3 separate regions of the Homo sapiens genome follow, and all the other regions are linked to region 2. The links are contacts of gene promoters, found by promoter capture Hi-C in human tissues and cell types (Jung and others, 2019). All regions are on one chromosome and are shown on one strand. Each heading gives the region's core, a stretch centred on a gene start or on the middle of the fragment in contact. The rest is flanking DNA. Distances are from core to core; before and after follow the strand shown. Region 1 holds the start of LSM4 (LSM4 homolog, U6 small nuclear RNA and mRNA degradation associated). Region 2 holds the start of UPF1 (UPF1 RNA helicase and ATPase). Region 3 holds the start of PGPEP1 (pyroglutamyl-peptidase I).

Evidence for each region. The method cuts DNA at HindIII sites, captures the fragments that hold promoters and counts their contacts. A contact is called where the count stands out against the background at its distance.
Region 1: the fragment with the promoter of LSM4 here is called in contact with the fragment with the promoter of UPF1 in region 2 in 1 of the 25 tissues and cell types used here (dorsolateral prefrontal cortex).
Region 3: a contact is called between the fragment with the promoter of PGPEP1 here and the fragment with the promoter of UPF1 in region 2, in 3 of the 25 tissues and cell types used here (adrenal gland, dorsolateral prefrontal cortex and stomach).

Annotation. Positions count from the first base shown.
Region 1 is chr19:18,321,736-18,324,625 of GRCh38, reverse strand. It overlaps LSM4 (LSM4 homolog, U6 small nuclear RNA and mRNA degradation associated), which reads left to right and starts at 1,550. Exons shown (of 5, transcript NM_012321.5): 1 at 1,550-1,608. The coding sequence starts at 1,606. It overlaps LOC105372300 (a long non-coding RNA gene), which reads right to left. Exons shown (of 2, transcript XR_007067157.1): 2 at 2,629-2,890. RefSeq lists enhancers at 409-1,011, 1,210-1,429 and a silencer at 1,490-1,669. The HindIII fragment of the contact is 25,574 bases long and covers 1-2,890 here.
Region 2 is chr19:18,830,123-18,833,397 of GRCh38, reverse strand. UPF1 (UPF1 RNA helicase and ATPase) reads right to left here and starts at 1,439. Exons shown (of 24, transcript NM_002911.4): 1 at 958-1,439. The coding sequence starts at 1,188. RefSeq lists silencers at 826-905, 916-1,005, 1,156-1,255, 1,376-1,635. The HindIII fragment of the contact is 23,837 bases long and covers 1-3,275 here.
Region 3 is chr19:18,339,333-18,342,300 of GRCh38, reverse strand. It overlaps PGPEP1 (pyroglutamyl-peptidase I), which reads right to left and starts at 1,703. Exons shown (of 5, transcript NM_017712.4): 1 at 1,586-1,703. The coding sequence starts at 1,619. RefSeq lists an enhancer at 1,146-1,833 and a silencer at 1,665-1,854. The HindIII fragment of the contact is 61,917 bases long and covers 1-2,968 here.

The DNA of each region.
Region 1 (2,890 bases), core at 301-2,800, 510 kb after region 2:
TAAATAGCATCAGTCATTTAAAAACGAGGCTGGGCGTGGTGACTCATGCCTGTAATCCCAGCACTTTGGGAGGCCAAGGTGGAAGGATCACCTGAGGTCAGGAGTTCGAGGCCACCTCCTGGCCAACATGGCAAAACCCCGTCTCTGCTAAAAATACAAAAATTAGCTGGGCATTGTGGCATGTGCCTGTAATCCTAGCCACTCGGGTGGCTGAGGCAGAAGAATCCCTTGAACCCAGGAGGGAGGGGTTGCAGTGAGCTGAGATCGCACCACTGCACTGCAGCCTGGGTGATAGAATGAGACTCCATCTCAAAAAAAAAAGAACAGGGTCTTCGCAGATGTAATTAAGGATCTTGAGATGACATTATCCTGAAATTTATGGTGGACTTAATAAGAGAAAGGAGTGTCCTTTACAAGAAAAAGGAGCGGCCGGGCTCGGTGGCTCACGCCTGTAATCCCAGCACTTTGGGAGGCAGAGGAGGGAGGATTGCTTGACCCCAGGAGTTCGAGACCAGCCTGGACAACATAGGGAGACCCTGTCTCTACTACAAAAAAAAAAAAGAAAAAAAAAAGGAGAGATACATTTGAGACTCAGAGACACACAGAGAAGGCCAAGTGACGACAAAGGCAGAACGCGGAAGGCTGCATCTACAAGCCAAGAACTCCAAGGATTCCCAGCAGCCACCAGAACCCAGGAGAGAGGCATAGGACACACAGATTGTCCTCAGAGCCTCCAGAGGGAGCCAACTGTGCTGACAACCTCACTTCATTATTCTGATCTCTTGAATTGTGAGAAAATCACGTTCTGTTGTTTTAAACCTCGCAGTGTGTGGGCATTTGTTACAGCAGGCCCCAGAAAACTAATAGCATTCGCCTATTTACTTTGTTTACTGTCTGTCTCCCTGAGGGCCACGAATTTTGTGTTTTGTTCATTCTGTGAGCAGAAACAGGCACAGAGTAGGTAATAAGTACTTAATATGTGCCAGACGCTGTTTTAAGTGCTTTTACATGGTTTCATTCATTTCATCCTTACAGTAAGCAACGTTTTGGAGCAGACACTACTATTTACAGGGAGCAAACTGAGGCCCCGAGGGTCGTGGTCAGGATTCCAACCTATTAAATGATGTTCCCTGGATAATTACAGAATCAGAAAACTAGGAGTCGGAAGGGCAACATCAGGCACGGCCCAATCACCACGAAGCCTCGATTTCTCTCTCTCTACTGCAAACGAAAGGCATTAACTGGCTTTGCCCACAGCGTGGAGCCCAGGAGACCGACGAAGGTTTCACCTGCGCACGCATTTCCTCACAATGCACCCCGCGCCGGCGCGCGTTGCTCCGCCTCCTTTTGCATTACAAGCCGCGGCACTTTACGGCTCTCGTCCTCGTTCCTCCGGCGGGAACACGGCCCGCCCCGCCCTTTCGCCCAGCGGGCCCCGCCCTACTCCGCGTGGATTGGTTGACCGCCCTTCGAGCCCGGTGCTGACTGGCTTGCGTCTCTGCCACTTTCTTTCAGCTTAGTGGCGCGCGGCGCGGCGACGACCGCCGGGAGCGTGTGCAGCGGCGGCGGCGGAAGTGGCCGGCGAGCCCGGTCCCCGCCGGCACCATGGTGAGGGCAGGGCAACTGCGGGGTCTCACCGGGAGGCGGGAACAGCAGTCGTTGGGATCCCTGCGGGCGGGCGCTGTGGGCTTGGTTGGCGCGGGGCGAACGTAAGGTCCGAGCCTCGAGTCCCGCCCCCCGGCACGAGGCTGGGAAACTGAGGCCGGAGACTGCAGGTGGCTCTATCACGTTCGTGTCTGGGATTTAGGGTTGCACGGACTTGTATCCACAGTACAGTGGCCTCGCCTTAGTTAGTTTTCCCAGTTTGCAGGTGGGGAAACTGAAGTAAAAAAAAAAAAGGTGGGGATCCGCCAAATGCAGCAGAGAGTTTTTGGGCAGGGAAGGGGTCCCTTACGCTTCGGGCCCAGTCTGACCTCCCTGATTGAAAACTAGAGTGCTGGGAAGTAGGGGGCCAGTCTGAGTTGTGAAACTTAGTTTTAGGAATTTCAGAGCTTGCAAGATGCTAGCAGCACAGCCTCCTAGGCCTCTTGGTTTCTGGCTGAAAAGCAGGCCTGGTGCTGGGGTGTGGTGTTTCTCCTTGGGTCACATAGCATGTCATTCCAGCGGAAGGGGGCGTTTTGAGCTAGGGGTGGACAAAGTACATCCTCCCAATACAAAGAAGGAAAAATTGCGGCCCAGGTCTCTGCAGGGCCCATTGTTTATGATTCTGGAAGTTCTGGATCTGGGCTAGAAAGTGCCCGTGTCCCCCACTGTGCAGATCGGAAAAGGAATTCAGAGCTGGGAGTTTCCTGGCCCATCAGCTTCTGGTCCTTCTTTTTTCAATGAGAGAAACCAAGGCCCTTGTTGGGGATGTGACTTCCAGACTCTGTGAGACAGTGGGAGATTCAGTAACCAGGAGGGTCCCCCAGGGGTGGCTGCATCAGAACTGTGGATTAGTGAGAACTCTCCCTAAATCCGGCTGGTCAGTGTGTAACCACCCAATGGGTTCACCTTGCCTGTCTTCCTAGACAGATTTATCAAGACAGGGGAATTGCAGTGGAGAAAGAGTATTTCACACAGAGCCAGCTATGCAGGAGACCAGAGTTTTATTATTGCTCAAATCAGTCTCCGCTGAGCATTAGGGGATCCGAGTTTTGAAAGATAATTTGGCGGGTAGGGGCTCAGGAAGTGGGGAGTGCTGATTGGTTGGAGCTTCCTGAGGTCGATGGAGTCATCGACGGGAGTGTTGAAGTGAGGTTTTCTTGCTGTCTTCTGTTCCTGGGTGGGATCGCAGGACTGGTTGAGCCAGATTACTGGTCTGGGTAGTGTCAGCTGATCCGTCAAGTACGGG
Region 2 (3,275 bases), core at 190-2,689:
GCTGTCTTATTGGAAGAACAAAACTCAAACCCAACTTTTCCAAGGCAAGAGTTGTGAAGTTATGTAACAGGTCGGTTTCAGCAACAGGCGATGCAAGAAAAAACAAAATACAACCTGCTTCCTGAATGATCTTAATAGCCAGCCAATATGTGCTCCTCCATGGGAGGCAAAAATTCTTCTCTGCCTCAACCTTCCGCTGGCCAGCGCCCCTATGCATGGGGAAAGTCGAACCTACGCTCCGTGACTGTGAAAGGTGGGGTGCCCAGATGGCTGCGACCACAGATGGGAGGTGGGACAGGCGGCCAGACCCACCAATGGGGAGACCGGGCAGGACCCCCGGACCAGGCCAGAGACAGGATTAGGGCAGGTCACCCTGGATACTCCCGGAAAGGGACTGAGGGAAGTCACTCAAGCTCCGGCCTGAGCAAGACCCGGCCCAGGTCGTAGGAGAACTCGAGGCAGAATACCGAGACCTGCGAAAGAGGGACCAGGGCAGGTCACCCTAGCCCGGATGGAATGGAAGAACTCAGATAAGTCAGGGGGCAGGTTACTCCAGGCCAGACTGATTGTGGGACACAAGGCAGGTCAGCCCGGGCCCAGGAGGGGGAGCAAACCCAGCTGGCGTAAAGGAACAGGGTCAGGTTAGCTCGGTCCCGAACGAAGTGGAGGACTCGAGGCAAGTCTGCCCGGCCCAGGAGTTGGGGGCCGAAGGAACTCAGCCAGGTCGCGGCCGGAGCGGGGGACCCGGGGCAGATCAGGCCAGGCCCGGGCAGATTGCAGGACCTGGGGCAGGTAAGCTCAGGCCGAGCCAGAGTAGGGGACCCGGGGCAGATCGCCCCAGGCCCGGCCGCGATGGGGGACTCCGGCCAAACACAGGCCGGGCCCGAGGCGAGTTCGGGGCAGGTCTCAGGCGCCGAGGCCGGGCCCGGGCTTCCGGCACCGCCATGTGCCGCTCACCTGCGCGTCGAGCTGTCCCGCCGCAGCGCCCGCGCCCGCGCCGCCCGGGCCTCCCGCGCCGCCACCGCCCGGGCCGCCGGGGCCGCCGGGGGGCGTCTGCGTCTGGCTAGGAAGAGTAAAGTCGGTGAACTCGAACTCGGAGCCCTGTGTGTCGGCGCCAAGCAGCTCGGCCTCCTCCGTGTCCAGGAAAGTGAGAGTCTGCGAGCTGGGCCCGTACGCCTCCACGCTCATGGTGCCTCCGGGTAGGGCCCTCGGGCCGGTTCCGCGCTGCACTCGAGCCCGCCGCCGCGCTGAGGCCTAGGCCGCAGGCCTCGGGTCGCTGCCGCTGTCGCCCCCGCGCGCCCGGAAAGGACCAAACCGCGCGCCCCGGCGCCAGCCGGACCGAGAGGTAACAGTGCCGAGCCGCCGCCGCTGCCGCCGAGCCCCTCCGCGCCTCAGCTCCCCTCGAAGCCGCCAGCCGCTCGCAGCCTAGAGCAGGAACTGCCGCCACCGCCGCCGTCGCCGTGCGCGTGCGCGAGCCCGACGCCGGCGGAAGCGCGCGCGCTCTTCGCGGGCGCCTGGTGCCCAGCAGGAAGACGGGACGCGCACCGCGCACGCGCAGGGGGTGGGGCTTTCAACCGCCGCTGCGGCGGCAGCTCGAGGACTTGGTCCCGCCCCAACTGCTAATTGGGGACGCCCGGGCGGCTGGCGGTGTGGACTTGGTGGTCTGCACCTGTGGTCGCTGCGACGGTGTTTCGGTTTAATTGAGCGCTAGCCGAATACCCTACATAGGTGGTCTCGGAACGCCCAACTGGAGAGACTGGGCAGGGACGGTGCGCTCCCACTCCTGGCAAAAGCTGCTTGGAACTCAGTTTCCCCATCTGTAAAATGGAGGGTGCCTCGCACATAGTAGATGCTCCCTGTGCATTGGTTTAAAAAGGGAGTGGGGCTCGGCGCGGTGGTCACACCTGTAATCCCAACACTCAGAGGCTGAGGCGGGAGAACTGCTTGAACTCAGGAGTTCGAGACCAGCCTGGGAGACAGAGTGAGACTCCATCTCTACAAAAAATATAAAAATTAGGCCGAGCGCGGTGGCTCACGCCTGTAATCCCAGCACTTTGGGAGGCCGAGGCGGGTGGATCATGACGTCAGGAGATCGAGACCATCCTGGCTAACATGGTGAAACCCCGTCTCCACTAAAAATACAAAAAATTAGCCAGGCGTGGTGGCACGAGCCTGTAGTCCCAGCTACTCAGGAGGCTGAGGCAGGAGAATCGCTTGAACCCAGGAGGCGGAGGTTGCAGTGAGCCAAGATTGTGCCACTGCACACCAGCCTGGGCAACAGAGTGAGACTCTGTCTCAAAAAAAAAAAAAAAAATTAGCTAAGCGTGGTGGTTCGCACCTGTAGTCCCAGCTACTAGGGAGGCTGAGGTGGGAGGATCGCTTGACCCTGGGAAGTTGAGGCTGCAGTAAGCCGAGATTGCACCACTGCACTCCAGCCTGGGTGACAGAGCGAGACCCTGTCTCAAAAATAAGTAAAAATAAATGAATGGGGATAGTCTTACGTACTGGGCCTGGCACTTGGAAATGATGGTTGCTGCTGTTCCTGATGCCTCTGCCACTGTTATTATACCATTACTATTTTTGCTATGATTATTATTTAGTGGACGTATACAGCAAAACAACTGGAAGCACATGGTCTGTGGTGGACTCTAGACCTGACCACTTACCAGCTGTGTGAAATTATACAAGTGACTTAACCTCTCTGAGCCTAGGGTTTCTGTTGCCATTAAGGTGGCATAGGAAGCCTGGGCAAGGTGGCTCTTTCCTGAAATCCCAGCACTTTAGGAGGTAGAGGCAAGAGAATCACTTGAGCTCAGGAGTTTGAGGCTGCGGTGAGCTATGATTGTGCCACTGCACTCCAGCCTGGGTGACAGAGATCCTATGTGTGTGTGTGTATATTAATATATATTTATTTATGTTAATATAAATAGAGTGACTAGTAGCTCATTTATTCCTCTCATACTCTCATGTGATATATGGTTGCTGCTGATATATATGGAGCCCGGTGCGGTGTGTCACGCCTGTAATCCCAGCACTTTCGGAGGCCAAAAGAGCAAGACCTTGTATAAAAATAAATTTTAAAAACTCTGATAGGTGTTACTAAATTGATCTGAAATTTGTCTACAAATTCCACTGGATGTGTTCCAAAGAGAGCTTTGCATGATATTAAAATTATCTGTTGGTCTGTCAGTATTCCCCCTTAAACTGTGCCTTCTTGGAGAGGGAGACCTACTTTTATTCATTGTTTATATTCCTACAGTTTAGTGCATGCTAGG
Region 3 (2,968 bases), core at 454-2,953, 490 kb after region 2:
GGAGCAGGGACTGAGGCACAGAGAGGTGAAGCTAGCTGCCCAAGGTCACACAGCAAGAAGGTGAAAAAGCTGGGATTCAAATCCAGATCTGGGGCTGGGTGCGGTGGCTCATGCCTGTAATTCCAGCACTTTGGGAGGCCAAGGCGGGCGGATCACCTGAGGTCAGAAGTTTGAGACCAGCCTGGCCAACATGGTGAAACCCCGTTTCTACTAAAAATACAAAAAATTAACCAGATGGGGTGATGCGTGCCCGTAATTCCAGCTACTCAGGAGGCTGAGGCAGGAGAATCGCTTGAACCCAGGAGGCGAAGGTTGCAGTGAGCCGAGATCGCGCCGTTGTGCTCCAGCTTGGGCAACAAGAGCAAAACTCCGTCTCAAAAAAAAAAAAATACGGTCCATCTGGGCCAGTGATCCCACAGGATATGAATGCTATGCAGAGATGCTGTAGCCTGGGATAGCAGGTAGGGGCTGTGGCTCAGGAGGGGACCTCCTAACTCTATCCTTCTGTACAGCCAAAGTTTGAGTCTCAGCTCAGCCCCTTACAAACTGGATGACCTCTGTGAGCCTCAGTTTCCCTTTCTGCAAAATGGAGACAGTAAAGATGTAATCAGCTCATGCAAAAAGTGCTGGAATAAATAACCAGATAAAGGAAGGCTGGAAGGGATGGGGGCAGTGACCCTCCTCCCAATTATACACACCTGTTAAGCAGGTGCCTTGTTTCTTCCTTCTTCCCTGAATCTCCTGGATCAGCCTCAATCTCCCTTCAACAGCCACAAAACACCTGTGTGCACCTTTGCTGGATTTCCCACTCTGACCCCTCCAGACAGCAGGTCAAAATGACCCCCCCACTCCTTGACTCTGAGGCCCCAGCGGAAGTTGGCGCCCCACGTGGCCCCGAGGCGGAGTCTCAGGGAGGAGAAACAGTTGGTTTGGGGGTGGGGGGGAGTCGGTGACAGCAGGGGCCCTGACTCACCAACAAACAGCCCTGGCACAAAACACAAAAAGGTTTCCGCTGAAGACAGTCCCTGGGACAGCTGGGAGAGCCCGAGGTCCCCGGACCCCCACCTGCCCCTGCCTTGGGAGAGTAGCCCCCCAGGAGCGCAGGGCGCGGCGAGCAGTGACTGGGAGGTTCATTTGTCACTGGGACACTTCCTGCCCGCAAATCGGCCTTTGTCCCCTGGGGCCAGGGGTTGGGGGAGCGGTGTGGGGACAGGCTGGACCTCGGAAGGGGCAGGGAGGAAGGGTCCAGTCCAGCCCGCAGGCCAGACAGAGGAGGCAGGTGCCAGGAGGGTCACCATCCCCACCTTGGGAGGAAAGGACGCCAGGGGGGCCTGCGCAGCGCCGGGCTTTTGCCCGGCCCCCCAAGCCCCGCGCCCGACTGCCCTGACTCCCGACCCTGGGACCCCCAAGGCTCCTCCTCCTCCACTTTCCAGGAAGCCTGGGCTGCGCGGGGCTCCCGCGGGTGATGACACCTTCCAAATCTGAGAGGACTTCCAGCACCTGCCCCTCTCGGCCCCGCAGTCCCGGAGCCGCCCCCGCCTCTGCCCCCGGCCGCTGCCGCTACAGCCCCCATCAGCCAGCGTACCCGTCACTACCACCGCCTTCCTCGGCTGCTCCATGGCGGGATCGGGCTGTGCCTCGGACCTGCTTCTGTTGCGACTGGCGCGACAGCTGCTGCCGCTGCAGCCTCTCGGCCGCGCGAGGCCACGCCCCTGTCAAGCCCCCGGCCTCGCCCCCGGTCAGCCGCTCGGCGTGCGCGCCCCCGGGCCCGAGACGCAGCGTGCGCGCCCTGCGCCCCGCCCCCGTCGGCTAGGCCCGGTATTCCCCAGCCTCCGTTTCCCCGTCTGCAAAATGGGAACATCTTATGCCGTAGTGTGTAGCCGCTTGCACGCACTGAGCCAGGTGCTGGGGATGAGCCGGTCCTTTATTCTGCAAGGGTTCATTGAGGGCCTGCCCTATGCATGCATACTGCGCAGAATTAGGGAGGGAAGTCCCCGCGAGCAAGGCCCGTTTTCCAGATAAGGAAACTGAGGCACAGAATGCCACTTCCCCGAGGTCACTCGCCTCAAGGGGTCACAGGAGCAGCATTCAGGCCAGGAAGTTGGCGGGGGTGGGGGAGGACAGAGTAAAAAAGGAAAAACACGACAACCATATTTGTGTGGTGCCAGAAGTTTCTCTGCAGGCCCCCATGGTCCTAGGAGGCTAATGGGGGAGGGCGATTGTACCTGCTGTTCCCTCTGCCGGAACACACCCCGCAGGTACCTGCGAAGCTGGCCTCCTTCAGGCCTCAGCTCCAGTGTTCCAATGTCGCCTCCTCCCAGGGGCCCTCCTCCTGTCCTGGCTGTCACCTCCTCCGAGGGGTGAACTGTCACTTTCTCCTTGTGGCCTTCTCTGGCTATCACCTCCCTGCTATCCTATTACCTCCTCTGAGGGTTCCTTCTGGCCCTCCTTGGCTGAAATGACCTCACTGCTACCCCCCAGTGGTTCCATCTCATTCCCTGGTTCCATCCTCTTCATAGCAATAAAGCTCAGAAATAATTTCCTTTCTCTCTCTTTTTTTTGGAGACAGGGTCTCACTCTGTTACCCAGGCTGGAGTGCAGTGGCAAAATCATAGCTCTGTAACTTTGACCTCCAGGGCTCAACTGATCCTCACATCTCAGCCTCCTGAGTAGCTGGGACTACAGGTGTGTGGCACCACACCCAGCTAATTTTTGTATTTTTGTAGAGATGGGGGTTTCATAGTGTTGCACAGGCTGGTCTCGAACTCCCGAGCTCAAGCAATCCGCACACCTTGGCCTCCCAAAAGTGCTGGGATTACAGGTGTAAACCAGCACACCTGGCCAGAAATCATTTTTAATTTTTTTTAGCTTTTAAGTTTTGGGGTACATGTGCAGGTTTGTTATATAGATAAACTCGTGTCATGGGGTTTGTTGTACAGATTATTTAGTCCCCCAGGTATTATTAAGC